Linked DNA regions of Homo sapiens: region 1 is linked to region 2. Evidence: promoter capture Hi-C in human tissues and cell types (Jung and others, 2019). All regions are on one chromosome and are shown on one strand. The core of a region is centred on a gene start or on the middle of the fragment in contact, and the rest is flanking DNA. Distances in the headings are between cores, read along the strand shown. Region 1 overlaps KCNH8 (potassium voltage-gated channel subfamily H member 8). Region 2 holds the start of KCNH8 (potassium voltage-gated channel subfamily H member 8).

Region 1 (6,901 bases), core at 404-2,903, 130 kb before region 2:
TTCAAATTCAAAATATAGTAGCCAAATGGTACTGCCTAAAGCTTATATTTTCAATGTTTAAATATATTTTAAAATATGTATTTTAGAAATATGTAAAAAAATCTTGCACTGTATTTCCTACTGAAAGGCATTCTGGACAGGAATATTTGAAAATGATGATAAAGTTGTTGTTGCTTAAAAACTAAACTATTAATCTATTCATACATAATTTTCCTTCATTTTCTTTTGATGAGGGGAAAAAGACTTCAATACTGTGAATTCTTGTCTTATTTGGGTGTTGATTTCAAAGTCAGGGTATAAGACAAAAATATGAGGGTCAGAAATATCCCTGATATTTTGAGTTGTCTTGCATACACTGTATTAGACCTCATAATTTCCAACACAGCTATGTATTCATCCAGCCTTGGGATCTATCATTTTTTTCTGCAGTTAAACACCAGGTGAAGCCACTAATTTATATTTAGGAGCCATCTGATATAAAAGTCTTATTTTATCGTAGCTGCTGCTGTATTTGTTTAAAAGAATGGTTGGATGATGTATGATGTGCTGCTCTCATAAGTTACACATGGAATATAAAATATGCTCGTTCCTCTGTATTCTCCCAATAGTTTTAGAGTCATGATTTCCTCCTTATTTTTTTTTTTTTTTTAGCCCTATGGCATCCCATTTCATTCATCTGCCCCAATATCTATGCCATGGCAATCTCATTTCAATAGCTCATTACCAGGCTCTAGAAGACCTGGGATCTAACCATGGTTCTAATACTAACTAGCCATGAAACGATAGGGAAGTCGATTAACCCATCTGGAACTTGGTTCCCTTCATTGTAACATTGTCACATCCTTCACTCCAGTAGTGAATACAGTGACCCCAAAAATGCTGAGACAATAAATCAACTCAAGTGTTTGTGATTCATGGAGAAGCCTCATAAATGAGCCATACCCATAGCCAAACACTGCTATCCTCGTCATCCCAGAATGGTTCTTAATTGAAATTTTATCTATGGTCACCATTTCAGACTGGGAGCCTTTTTCAATGCTGTAGCTATGATAGAAACAAAAAGAGCCATCAGGCTAAACTAATAATCAGACCTTAGAGAAAGTAATAGTGGGGACACAAAGAACGGTATGAAATCTGACATTTTGGTTGACATTTTAAAGCACCTCTCTGTCAATTACCTTGCAAGAACATCACCAAATCATAACCGAGGCTATTAATTTTCCTGAAAATCTTCTATCTGTGTACTCAGACAAGTATCATTACTGTCTCCAAAGAGCCTTTGCATAGGTGCACCAATATATTTTGGAAAGAGCCAAAACCACATGAGGTGAAAACCAAGGAAACAGCTGTTGATATGGCAATATTCACTGATCAGCCCTTGAGGCACAGCCATCATTTCACATTATATTCTGGAATAACTGAAAGTTTACTTTGAGATTTGTCTTTTAAGTTACAGTGATGTGATCACTAACATTTTATAAATTCAATAAAACTTCATTACTTTGGATCTTTCTAAATTCAAGCTTTGGAATGATTTTACATGAACTAGGCTGATGTCTACCTTCCTAGTGCCTATATGACAAAAAAGTTTATGAGAGAAACAGTGTAAAGGGCATAAAAACTATTTCCTTCCTTCCCTCCCTCCCTTCCTCCTCCCTCCCTCCCTCCCTTCCTCCCTTATTTCCCTCCTTCCTTTGTTCCTTCCCTCCCTCCCTCCCTTCCTCATTTCCCTCCTTCCTTCCTTCCCTTCCCTTTCCTTCCTTCCTGCCTGCCTTTCTCCCTCCATCTCTCCCTCCTTCCCTCCCTCCTTCCCTCCCTCCTTCCTTTTTTCCTTTCAACTGTCCCTCCAGATTTATCCACACCAATAATCTTACGAATATTCAGGTATATTTATGCTTTTCTTTCTCAATTTTAGAAGAACACAAAGCATATACCAACTGCATTATCTTCTAGAAAGATAATAGATGCCAAAAGCTACCAATCATGTTCAATGCAAGACTCTTTATACTTAGCATGCTCGCTTATCCTTTGCTTCTCTGCTTTCCTAAATCTTTCCAGCAAGCCCTCCACCCTGCATTTCTAATGACACCTTTCACCTCTTATGAATGCAATAATTCAAGACTATTCTCCAGGATCTGGCTCTTCCTCTCTTACCTGTGGGCACAATGATCAACTCTTTCAGTCAAGAGCAATTCAGGCCCAGTGCAACAAATCTCTCTTAGGGTTAAGGTGGGAGGCTGCAAGTCCCACAGCCTCAAATTCAGAGATGTGAATGATAAGAGCAGAGTCAGAGGGCAGACATTTCATGAGAATTTTAACTCCTTCTTTATATAGCAGCAGTAATTACCATGTGGGTTGGAGAGTGTCAACACAGATGAGGCTCTGACAGGATTTAGGTTAATGACACCTTTAATTTCTATGGATAAATACAATTGTGGAGAGAAAACAAGGTTTTTACCTTATATGGAAAAATCTATTTTTGGAATTGAATAGTTACACAAAAGCTTAAATCTGGTGGAATGTCCCTTGTCTCCATTTTGGTACTTTCTTTTTCTTGATTGGGAAACAAGGATGCAGGATAATTTGACTTGCTAATATTTTTGTGTATTTCTTTTTATTGAGGTAAAACATACATACATAGTTTACCACCTGTGCCTTTTTGTTTTTTAAGAGAAAGTCTTACTCTATCACACAGGTAGGAGTGCAGTGGCATGATCACAGCCTACTTTAGAGTCAAACAATCCTGCCACCTCAGCCTCCCAAGTAGCTAGGACTACAGACGTGCACCACCACGCCTGGCTAGTTTTAAATTTTTCTGTAGAGATGGGGATCTCCCTATGTTTCCCACGCTGGTCTCAAACTCCGGTGTTCAAGGGATCCTGCCACCTTGGCCTCTCAAAGCACTTGAATTACAGGCATAAGCCACCATGCACAGCCCATCTTTACCATTTTTAAATATACAGTTCAGTGGTAATAAATATCTTTATAGATATTTTTCCCTTCATCCCCCTGCCTCCCCTTCCTAGTCTAGGGTAACCAACAGTCTACCCTCTATCTTCATAAGAGCCACTTTTTTAGCTCTCAAATATGAATGAGAACATGCAATATTTGTCTTTCTGTGCTTGACTTCTGTCACTCAACATAAGGGCCTCCAGTTCTATCAATGTTTCTTCTGCAAATGACAGAACTTCATTTTTTATGGCCAAATAATATTCCATTATGTATATATATCACACTTTATCCATACCTTGATGGGCACTTAGGTTGATTCCATAACTTGGATATTGTGAATAGTGCTGCAATAAATACAGGAATGCAGATATCTCTTTAATATATTGATTTCCTTTCTTTGGGATATATACATGGTAATGGAATTGCTGGATTATATGGAAGTTTTATCTGTGGGTTTTTGAAGACCATTCCATACTTTTCTTCATAGTAGCTGTACTAATTTTTGCTAATATTTATAATTATTAGAGAACTCATATGCTTTCCAGACAGCACTAAAATATATTTGTCAATAGATAAAAACTCATAATAGCTAACTAATAATAATGTTTCTAGTATGGGTTCATGGTTTAATAACTTAATACAAGGAGGTGCAGGTATAAGGAAAACTGAGTTGTGAGTGGTCCCACTCTCTTTAATGACTGTGCTGTCATGATGGGAAATAGTGCATTGCTCAATATAACACAATAGGTCAAAGTGAGATATGGACACATTTGATGTTCTCTTGTTTCTAATATCAAGCAGGATTTTGAATAAATTTTTAATGATAAATACATAACATCTTTACTTTTTGAAATTATAGCAACAATAACATAATATCCCAAGGGTTAAGAGCATCAGGGTTATGTGACCTAAACATTTCCAGGTGTTCCTCCTAGTTCACATTAAGTCTGATGAGTCTTGTTCTCTACAACCATTGTCTCAGTGCTACTTAATGATAAAATAACAGGCTTGCCAGTTTTTAGAAATTAGTCCAGAGAAAATACATACATGTATACACACACACACACACACACACACACACACACACACATATACATATTGGGGTGGGAGTGGGGAAAGAGCTGCAGGTGAGTAAACAAGGCTGCTATGAATTGTGGCTGGGTGAAGGGACACTCATTTCTTCAGCAGAAAGAGTGGGGCAGTAATTCAGTCCTAACTGAATCTACCAGAAAGCTCCAAGTTACCCCTCCACTTTATTATATTTGCTACTGTTTTGTTCGGTTTCAGTCATCTCTTGCCCACTTTTCCAAAGTATTCTTCCTGCCTCTAGTCTTCCTCCCATGCTACTGCCAACAACCTTTGACAATACAGGATCCCGATTAAAAACACCTGACGGCTTTTCACTGTTTGCTCAAATCAGCACAACATTCCAGACTCTAATCAATATGGAAAGTGTCTTTCAAGGGACTAGAAAATACGGGAATGTGATGGACGTGCAAAGAGGTGAACTAAAAAAAGGTGTCATGTTAAAAAGGAGGGGAATGTTCCCTGGAATACCCAAAGCTGCTTGGCAAATAAGTCTCTACAGCATCGTCACCAGCCCTTCCTGATGTTTGTACTATACTAAGAGATGAAAGTAATGGTTCTTTAGAAAACATGAGGTAAAAGCTTCACCTTATCTGCAGTGAACATTTCTTCCAGGGACCATCTATCTACAATGCAGCTCATATAGGCTGCAAGTCTTTGCTCAGTCCTCACTGAATTTACGTCGGGTCAATACCCCTCCTCCAAATGCCCCAGGATACTAGTGAGCCAAAGTAAATGGCACTGGTTTCCTGACTCCCTGTGTAACAGTGGAGGGCAGCGTGGGGGGTAGACAGGAGATGAACTGACACAGCTGGAGAGCTCCCTGAACTGGGTGGTGGCTAAGGATACCCTTCATTTCAATGTTTAATGAAAAATAAAACACACTGTGTTTTAAACTTCTTTTTGCGTTAAAAACAGATGGGTAGAATACGCATACTATATTGAGTTGAAAAAACACTGGCAGAATAAACATAAAATCCACAATGGTGGATTGTAAATTATGGTTTAATTTCCTTTTCTTTTCAGCATCTTTATTTTCAGGTTTTCTAGAATAAGCATGAAGAAATATATAGTAGGATTCTGTCAACTCCAGTGATTTGAGGTAGAGATGTAAAGAGTTCAAGACTGGAGCAATAAGAATGATGAGATCATATTTCTGGGGAATAATTTTTTATATATTCTTGATAATTTAAAATATGTTCTAATGGATACTTCCATTTCAAACTTTTGAGAAAAGTGCTATGTTAAGTCAGAATATCTGACTGAGAGAGAGAGAGAGGGAAGGGAAGGGGAGGGGAGGGGTGGGGAGGGGAGGGGTGGGGAGGGGAGGGGAGGGGTGGGGAGGGGAGGGAAGGGAAGGGAAATCAAGTTATGATTAACTGATTGAAACGTGTCAAGTTTTTAATCCTCTTTTCATTTTGATCCAAGTTACCTTTCTCCTTAAATAAAAGTACTTTATTCATTTCCCAGGTGTATGTATAGCCACCTCTCAGAAATCTCTAATAATTAGGAACAAGAGGAGCCTGGAAACTTCAGGTGCAAAAATATCCCCAAGACATGATTTAGTCAATACATCCAACATCCTTGCTCAACAAATTAACTGGGGTTATTGACCAGTAGAACTAATACTTGCTTTAAGAAAACCAAATTGGTTCCCATGGTAAACACAGATAATTCTTACCTACAGTTGAAAGGAGTTTCCATGTACAGTTAAACACAAATTCAGCAGCGATAGTTTTATAGTAGGAAATGGAACAACTGAGTACAGTCCAATGAGAACTGGAGATAAAGAGGCCCTGAAAACAACACACACAGCAAGGACCTAGTGATTGCTGTATTCTATTAAGAGTGTATTATGTGCTAACATTGTACAACACGTCTTGCATGTATTATATTTAAATTTCCCACTGATCAACCTGATCAACATTTTACTGCACTGAACTATATTTTACAATTATGGAGATTGAGATGTGTAGTATTTTCTTCAGGTCACACAACAGTCCTGTGAAGAAATGGAATTTAAACACAAGTCTGAGTTTGATTTTCTAATTTTGCCTTACTATTAATGTAATATTCTGGGAATGATCCTCTTCTATGGACAATGTTTTAAACATTGAGTTTCAAGTCAATTTAATTCTCCTTTCTACACATACTATAGGACACGATTATATACATGCTCTAAAAAAATCCTATTTTAAATGAAAAAAGTGCAGTAAAGCCTTTTTATAATAAAAAGAATTTCACTCTCAAACCAGGAATAAGAGTAGAACCACTATTTAAAACAAGATTCAGCTATTTTAGTTTAAGACTGAAAAACATCCTTCATTAAGGTATATGTGGCGTTAATTTTTAAATTTGCTTGAGTATCCAATGAGACTGGGATCAGAAAAACACCACTGGTGCTGCTGCCAGTCCCAGGTTGAGACAAAGAGAATGTACTTATACAAGCTTTGTGATTACAGTATCTAAGTGTAGTTACCTAAGCTGCTAACATATGAGGCACCATATTCTGACCTCATTCACAAAGCTGCTGCATGCTTCTGCCTCCCGGTATGTTTTTGCTTCTTGCTCTCTTAGGAAGCTTCAGAAATGGTGATCTGTATACCATGGCAGCTCTGTGTAGGATGCAGAGTAACATTCCCTGGATTCATCTGCTAAGACTGAAAATAGCAAAGAGAACTAAGCCCCAATTAATGTCTGACTTATGGCTCTATCTTTTCAATGATCCTCTGGAGAAAAGAAGGCCACATGTGATGGACAATTGGTAGTGAGCAGACAAATGTCTGATCTGACAGGTTTGGTTTCATGATTGCTACTTCTAAGCACTTCTTTGTGAGAACAAGGCACTGAAACAAACCCACTC
Region 2 (7,643 bases), core at 4,930-7,429:
AAATCTATCACTTCCTTAAGAGAAAGTTAACTCCCTGGGAGAAAGAAACATTCCTAAGAAAATGAACACATCAACTTCACTGCATTCTATGGAACCTTTATTTTAAAAAGCATTATTAGAAGAGATAGTAAAAAGAAACATCCCAAGTCTAAAGTTGGCATCTACTGTAGTGTGCTTTAGACTGTAGAACATGGGAAGGTTGAGCATTTTGGAAGTTTTTTAACTAGACATAGATGGCACCATAGTTTTTTACCAAAATATGGATCTATCACTTCCAATGGCTTATTATAACCAAAAACTGTGGGTTTAAAGATCTTTTATGGCTGGTCTAACCTACTTTCCATTGCCCTCTTACTTCTACATTGACCCCTTAACACCCTTTAAAATGCCTCTTATTCTCACTAAAGGCTCTTTCCAGCCTCAATGACAAGTACTGTACAAAATGGCAAATTAAATAGAATATTGTTTTTGCACCTATCATATATGATACAATCATTCCCACCCAAAGTTATTTATTATATGAAGCCCTCTCAGATCATTCCTGCATAGAAACTATTCCTCCCTCACCCAAATGTGCATAGCCCTTTGTCTGCACCTTCTGAATTACACTTATCTTTTTCTAATCTATATTATAGTAATTTGTGCATGTTACATTGCCCCATTTGAGAAAAAGATAATCCTGATTTATTCCAAATATCCTAGCATGATGGCTTTGTGTAAAGTTGGTATTCATTGAATATTATTAGAAAAATGATTGGGCCAGGTGCAGTGGCTCACGCCTGTAATCCCAGCACTTTGGGAGGGCGCGGTGGGTGGATCACGAGGTCATGAGTTCAAGACCAGCCTGGCCAAGATGGTGAAACCCCGTCTCTACTAAAAATGCAAAAAAATTAGCCAGGCGTAGTGGCAGGCATCTGTAATCCCAGCCACTTGGGAGGCTGAGGCAGAGAATTGCTTGAACCCGGGAGGCGGAGGTTTCAGTGAGCCAAGATCGCACCACTGCACTCCAGCCTGTGCGACAGAGTGAGACTCGTCTAAAAAAAAAAAAAAAAAGAAAAAAGAAAGAAAAGAAAAGAAAAGAAAAAGAAAAAGAAAAATGATTGAGTGAATGAATAAAGTACACATTTCTTTAGAAAGACTGTGCCTCTTCCAGAAGTATGTTGAGTCTAGGATATCTCAGAAACTAGTAACTCAGGATCCTCAATATGCTTCTGTAAAGACTTTTTGTCCTTTGCCAGTCTCATTGGCCAGAAGAGGTCTCATGCCACGACCTTTGAACTGACAGTAATGAAAAATGTTAGAGCCTAGAAAGACTATATCGTGGACACAATTTCAATTTTCAGCATATTGCATGTCCATTTTCTCTATATAATAATGTCAAAATTATCTGATGTTAGCTTTTAAGACTGTGCAATACAACTTTTCTTATTATTTGTATATATCACTAATCAAAAGAAAATCATTTCTGGTAAAGACATAAATCCAATTCCTGTAATTCTAACACTTTCTTCATTGTAGTGAAGTTATCAGAACCCCTGTGATAAGTCCTTTAGAGGGCACAGAATTCATCTACAAAGTCAAGAGTATGATAATGGGTACATTATCCTTCTCCCTATGCTTCTAACATTAAGAGGTCTATGTACCTTGATGAAAGCAAAAAGATAAAAAGAAAAAACCACTGAGAATTTCCTCTGTAGAGGAAGTATTTCAATTTTAACAAATTTCTTTTCTTTTTTCTTTTTTTTTTCTTTTTAAGACAGAGTCTCACTCTGTCACCCAGGCTGGAGTGCAGGGGCATGATCTCAGCTCACTGCAGCCTCTGCCTCCTGGGCTCAAGGGATTCTCCTGCCTCAGCCTCCCAAGTAGCTGGGATTACAGGTGCATGCCGCCACACCCGGCTAATTTTTGTATTTTTAGTAGAAATGGGGTTTCACCATGTCAGCCAGGCTGGTCTCGAACTGCTGGCCTCAAGTGATCTGCCCGCCTCAGCCTCCCAAAGTGCTGGGATTACAGGCGTGAGCCACTGCGCCCAGCATCAATTTTAACAAATTTCTTTGGACCATTTCAAACAGGCTATATAGAAGTGCATAAAATATATGCAAATATTAATGAGTTTCTAAACAACCATTATTTTGAATACTTTGATTGGAATCTTCTTGATGGAGTCCACTGGGCTACAAACTTCCTTTAAAACTTAAATTTTTGTCTTAGTAAACCAAAAGGGAAGAAGTAGTCTGGCCAAATTTTGATATGCCTAGAAAATGTAGGCTAATCCACCATTATGTTTGAAAATGGATACTTCCCTCTGAAAGCTTTGTATCTTTTTTAAAAAGCTGTTTTTCTCAAATGGTATCCTGTGACAAACAATTGTACTAAAAATACTATTTTTTCAAATATAAATACATTGGTATATATTTTTTCAAATATATACCAATGTGTTCCCTTATTGTACTTTCCCTTTGTCCAAATTAATAGTTACTTAAAGCAAAAGTCTAAACAGAAAAGATTTTCTTAAATTACAGCAAATATGTTTTAAAAAAAAACTATGGAGAAGTGAACTAGTTGCAGGCCATAACGTTAGGAGTGTGTGTGTGGTGTATGTGTGTATGTGTATGTCTTAGAGTGGTACAAGTGAGTGGTTTTTGCTATGTGTAATAATTCAAAGAAATTAATTGGAATTACTTTTTCTTTTTCCCCCTAAGTGGGGTATACGTATTTAAGATTTCTAAGGTTCTTAGTTTTTCTAAGTCTTACTACACTTCAGTTAAATACAAACCATAAAACATATTTCAAGAGTAAATATATTTAGTGGTAATTTTATATAATATTTTTATTTTTCAATAATGGTTGCAAATTATATTGCATATCAGAAAAAAATAGCCTCAATTAATAATCCACAAGTGTCTTTCAATCCTGACAGACCTCACTTTTTAAATATTAAAAAGAAATATTATAATATGTAAAATAATAAAGTGTCACTAAGTTATAAAATGTATTATTAACTTCCATTATGTTGCCCTGTGATAATATCTCAACTGATAAATAGTAGGATTATGTTATAGAGTTTTATGTTGTCATATATTTATTTTTCCTGGGAGGATTTTCAGATGATGTCTTACATTGTTTTATTATTCTCCAATAAAATAAATTAATAAGGCTAATAATAATACTGCATGTTGGGTACATTAGCAAGGCAGTTTGCCAGGGTTGTTGTTTGCTCTCTAATTTTTTTTTCATAAAAATTGTCCAAAATAAAATAAGAAACTAGCATGACCGTAAAATATACTTCACAAATAAGGTAAAAATTATACCAACTCAGCATATTACATATTCAGTATAATTAACATTATTCACTTTCCAGCAAAGTTTTTGAGTAGGTGGCAATTTTGTAAATTTAAAATTTGTAAATAGTTTTCTCTTGCAAAAGAAAATAAATGACAGCTATAAAAATCAATAGAAGTAAGGATTATCATAGGAAAATAGTTTCAGAGATAGTAATTACAAAACTGTATCAACAAGAAACAATGGCATAAGAAGATAAAGTAAATAGCTAGCTGGAAAAATGGTATACCCATTATTCTAGATATACCAAAATTTGTGGCTAAAATTTTGTTTAAGGTATTTTAAGTTTCAGATTATTCAAGTCATCCTGCTATTCAAAAAGAAAAAAAAAAGAAAGGAAAAGAAAATGAGAAAAGAAAACCCTCTTTCATTGAGTGGGGGTTTCTTGGGAGGAGAGGTGTTCACTAAATGTTGTAAACAAAACCTTGCCAAAGTCAACCCTTATGTTACTTATCACCTTCAAATTTGCTTCTCTGATTGTCAGATTTCATGCAAACTGGTTCCCTCCAGGAATCCCCCAGATGCTGTGGAGCACAGACCAAGCATGGTCTCCAAAAGACTTTTTGATTTCTTACTATACTAAATACAGGTATGTCAGGATGGTCTTCTTTAAAAATAAGGATTTAAAGTATCTAACCTATCTTATTAACATTAATGTGTAGCCAACATAGAAAAAGAACTATTCACAAGTACATCCATCTCTCCCTACATGCCCTCCTGCTTATCATGCATATCACTATAGTCAGAGTCAGAGGCCAAGATATTTCCACGCTGATGATTTAAAGCCCCTCTCATTAGCAATTGATATCTGAATGTATCACTGCAGTAATTCCCAAGGCTGTGCTGGGATGATTCACTACACATTACACTTCATTCAACTTTAAATGGCAATGAGATAAACAATTACCATTTGCCAATTACCTCATTTTCAATAGACAAATTCAGGATCAATGTTTACAGCCTTTTAGTTTTGGATGTTCAACTTCAAAAAAAAAAACATCCACATTAAACTGATCAGTACCTCAGGTAATGAATAGTAAAATAGTAGTATCCGCCATCATGCATGGTAAAACACAGCAGTGGTGATTTTGTGTGGCGCTTCAGTGGTGTGGTAGTGGCAATGGCAGGGACTTGAAGTTTTCCTATAATATTTATCATTATTATCTAAAAAAGACATACGTAATAACATTACACCTCATACATAACATCTAACACATTTAGAATATAAAAGGGAAAAGAATGGCTAGATGTAAAGATAAAAACACTTATGAAGTGACCAAATATCCACACCAACTACCATGATTAGACTAGATGTCAAAAATAAAAACTGAACAAAATTAAAGTGATTCATTTCTTTCTCATGTAAACTTTTCCAACTATCCCTGAAGCATAAGTCCAAGACTTGCTTCCCACCCAAAGATAAGACTGTGTATTTAGACTACTGGAGTGGAAATGAAATTAGTATTGCTCTCCCATATCAGCTCCAAGAAATATACAGAGTAAAAGCAATGACACTTGAACCACTAAGAAGGACTTTAGGATAAATGAGTTTCTCTGAGTCTCAACAGAAAAATGGAAGACAGTGCACAGAAGCAAGATAAGCTAGAAAGAAGATGAGGATATTCGTAGTGAAACCAACTGAGAGCATTTGTTAGGGGTGGTAGTACAGACTCCTAATTACAGGGTTAAAGCCAGCTAGGAAGATCCACAGGGTCAAGTAGAGAGCTTGAAAAGCCTGAGAAGGAGTGGGGACCTGACCGTGGTCCTGAAAGAGAACAACTTGCAGATGATAACGAACCGTCTGCTAGCAACCACACAACATCCTATCTATTTTTTTTCCTACTGTAGCTTAAATGAGCTAAATGTCCAATAATATTCGTACTCAAAAAAAAAAAACTAAAAACTTTCTCTTATCATCAAATCGTCTTTATTCATGTCCTTCTTCCTGAACAGCCTCTGCTTGAGTGTTAGGCTCATTTAAGGATTAAAAGATACGCTATTCTAGCTCAAAAGCAGGAATCAAGGTTCTGACAAACTCACAACACTTAAAATTCTACAGAAAGCTTACACTTGGCAATCCTGCATTTCTTAAACTCAGATAGAAAATCATACCTATCCGAAATATATCACGGAATGAAGCTCCAAGAAAGAACACTCCAAGCTCTCCTTTTGATCTAGGGAGCCTTGAAACTCTAGAAAGATTAGGTACACCGATATTCCCCTTTTCACCTCAGAAAATTACAACCAATTCCCTAAAGATACACCAAAATGCAGGTCCCACAGTGAATACGGGCGTCGGTCTTTCCTCAGGCTGCGTTTCAGTCCTTAACAAACCCAAGAACTCAAGAGAGCCAACTATTACACCAATACAAAGTGTTAATACTACACCAAACCATGAGGGAACAAATTTCTCCGCACAAAAGATACCTTGGCAAGAACAGAAGAAAATTCACTCCGCTGGTGCAAAAGGGAAGGTGGGAGCAAAAGTAATGTGTACGAGAAAAATCAGTCTCAGAAAATGCCATACCACTCGTTCAAGTGTAAGACTTACGTGTTCCGTCAAAACGGGTGGCGATGGTGTCCAGGAAGGTGTTTTGCGGCGCCAGTAATCCTTTCATAACCGGCATTTTTCCAGCGTGGTGTGAAATTCTCCATCAAAGTTTGTCCAGAAGGATGGTTCGAAAGGAAAGTGCCAAGAAGGGAGAAGGGGAACCTGATGACGGCAGGGAAGGGGGACCCGGCCTGACGGCGGGGCCGAGCAGGGGAAGTGGAAGGATGGAGGGAGAAAGGGAGAGAGTTCCAGCCGCCCCGGCTGTGGCAGGAGGAGCCCCAAGAGCGCTCCCCGAGCCCGCCCCGCACCTCCAGGCTCAGCCCGGCGCAGGCTCCCTCTCCCGCCCCCTCCACCCCCGCCAGCTGCTGAAACCCCCCCACCGTCCCTCCGCGGGCAACAGTGCCCGCCAGGCGCCGCCGCGCGGTGCCTCGCCCCCCACGTCGCCCGCCCGGAAAGAGCCCGCAGTGGCCCGGGGCGCCGCGCCCTGACCGACGTCTCTGGGGTCTGGGAGGGCGGCGCTGAGAGCTGGGAGAGGCGCTGAGCCTCCCGGTCTCCACGGGACGCCGGGAAAGGAGAGCGAGCGCAACTCCCACGCCCCGGGAGCCAGTGAACAAAGACCCCTTTGTTCCCTCTCCGTCCCACTCCCGGGGAGACTGGAGTCCCGTGGGTGTGGTATTGGAGAAAGGGAGGAGACAGGTCGGGGCAGGTATCCGGCCTCAACCTAGAACTTAGGAGGGGGAGGCCCCCCAGTGGTGTCCAAGGGAGCAGAGGCAGCCAGGAGCCCCACGGGGAGGCGGCCCCCTTCCGGAGCACTTGCCATTGCGAGCCCACGCGACAGGGGCAGGGCAGCCCGAGTTAGTTGTGAGGCCCATCCCCAGTCACCAGGGTCTTTTAGTCCGGGAAACTGGCCCCGAGCTCCAAAAAGGGGTGCTTCAGCCCTTCTCCCCAAATTGCCATTGGCCTCCCCAAGCCATCCCAAACTTTAAAAAAATAGCCTTTTGAACGGACAATGGATGGTTTCCCATTCTCCGGTAAAATGTGAATAAAGCATTTCTAGAAAAGTTTGCTATTTTTATTAATTTGCAAAATACCACGTAAGTAAAAACAGTAAGGCTGCCTTCCAAAAATAGCTTCAAACACAAATCCCCTAGCCTGCCCCCCTTTCCCCAGCCCCCACTCCCGAAGACTGACACCTCCAAGAAGAAAGCCTGGCGGACGGCCAGGAACTGAAGGCGTCTCAGAAAACGAAAGTGGTCTCTCCCAGTCCTCCCCCCTGGCCCCCCCCGCGGGGACTCCCTCTCGGCCAACGTTCTGCGGGGAAAGTCGCCCAAGCCTGCGGCACAGCCCTGTGGGGAGTGCAAGGGGACACCCAGAGCCCGAACTTTATAGAAAACTCTGCAAGGGAGGTGGAGTGTGGAAGGGAAGTTGAGAGCCCCAGGGTAGAAAAACAAACGTAAGCCCAGGTGCTAGTGCACCCGGAAGGAAAGGAGGGAAAAAGCAAACAGGTGTCAGAGCCGCGGCGAGGCAGCTCTGATCTCCAGGAACTCGGGCGTGGCGGGAGGAGGGAGGGAGGGCCCACCCCCCGCCCCCTTACTAAGGGGGTTTCTTGTTTCAATTATCTCGGCTGTTGGGGCTTCGGGGGGGACCCCGCGGGTTTCGTCACGTCTGCCTTGGGCTCCGGGAGGGAGGGGGAGAAGAGAGAGAAGCGGCATCCCCCTCTCCCCGCCCCCAGGCCCCCTTTCTCGTGATG

Evidence for each region. Contacts are between HindIII fragments. The study calls those that stand out against the background at their distance.
Region 1: a contact is called between a fragment that was not itself captured here and the fragment with the promoter of KCNH8 in region 2, in 2 of the 25 tissues and cell types used here (H1 embryonic stem cells and dorsolateral prefrontal cortex).

The regions. Positions count from the first base shown.
Region 1 is chr3:19,273,317-19,280,217 of GRCh38, reverse strand. The region is part of intron 2 of KCNH8 (potassium voltage-gated channel subfamily H member 8); the gene reads right to left. Among named protein-coding and RNA genes, the nearest start is that of MIR4791, 38 kb to the left of the region's middle. The HindIII fragment of the contact is 3,819 bases long and covers 1-3,562 here.
Region 2 is chr3:19,147,046-19,154,688 of GRCh38, reverse strand. It overlaps KCNH8 (potassium voltage-gated channel subfamily H member 8), which reads right to left and starts at 6,179. Exons shown (of 16, transcript NM_144633.3): 1 at 5,894-6,179. The coding sequence starts at 5,969. RefSeq lists enhancers at 6,737-7,330, 7,331-7,643 and a silencer at 7,618-7,643. The HindIII fragment of the contact is 8,005 bases long and covers 3,860-7,643 here.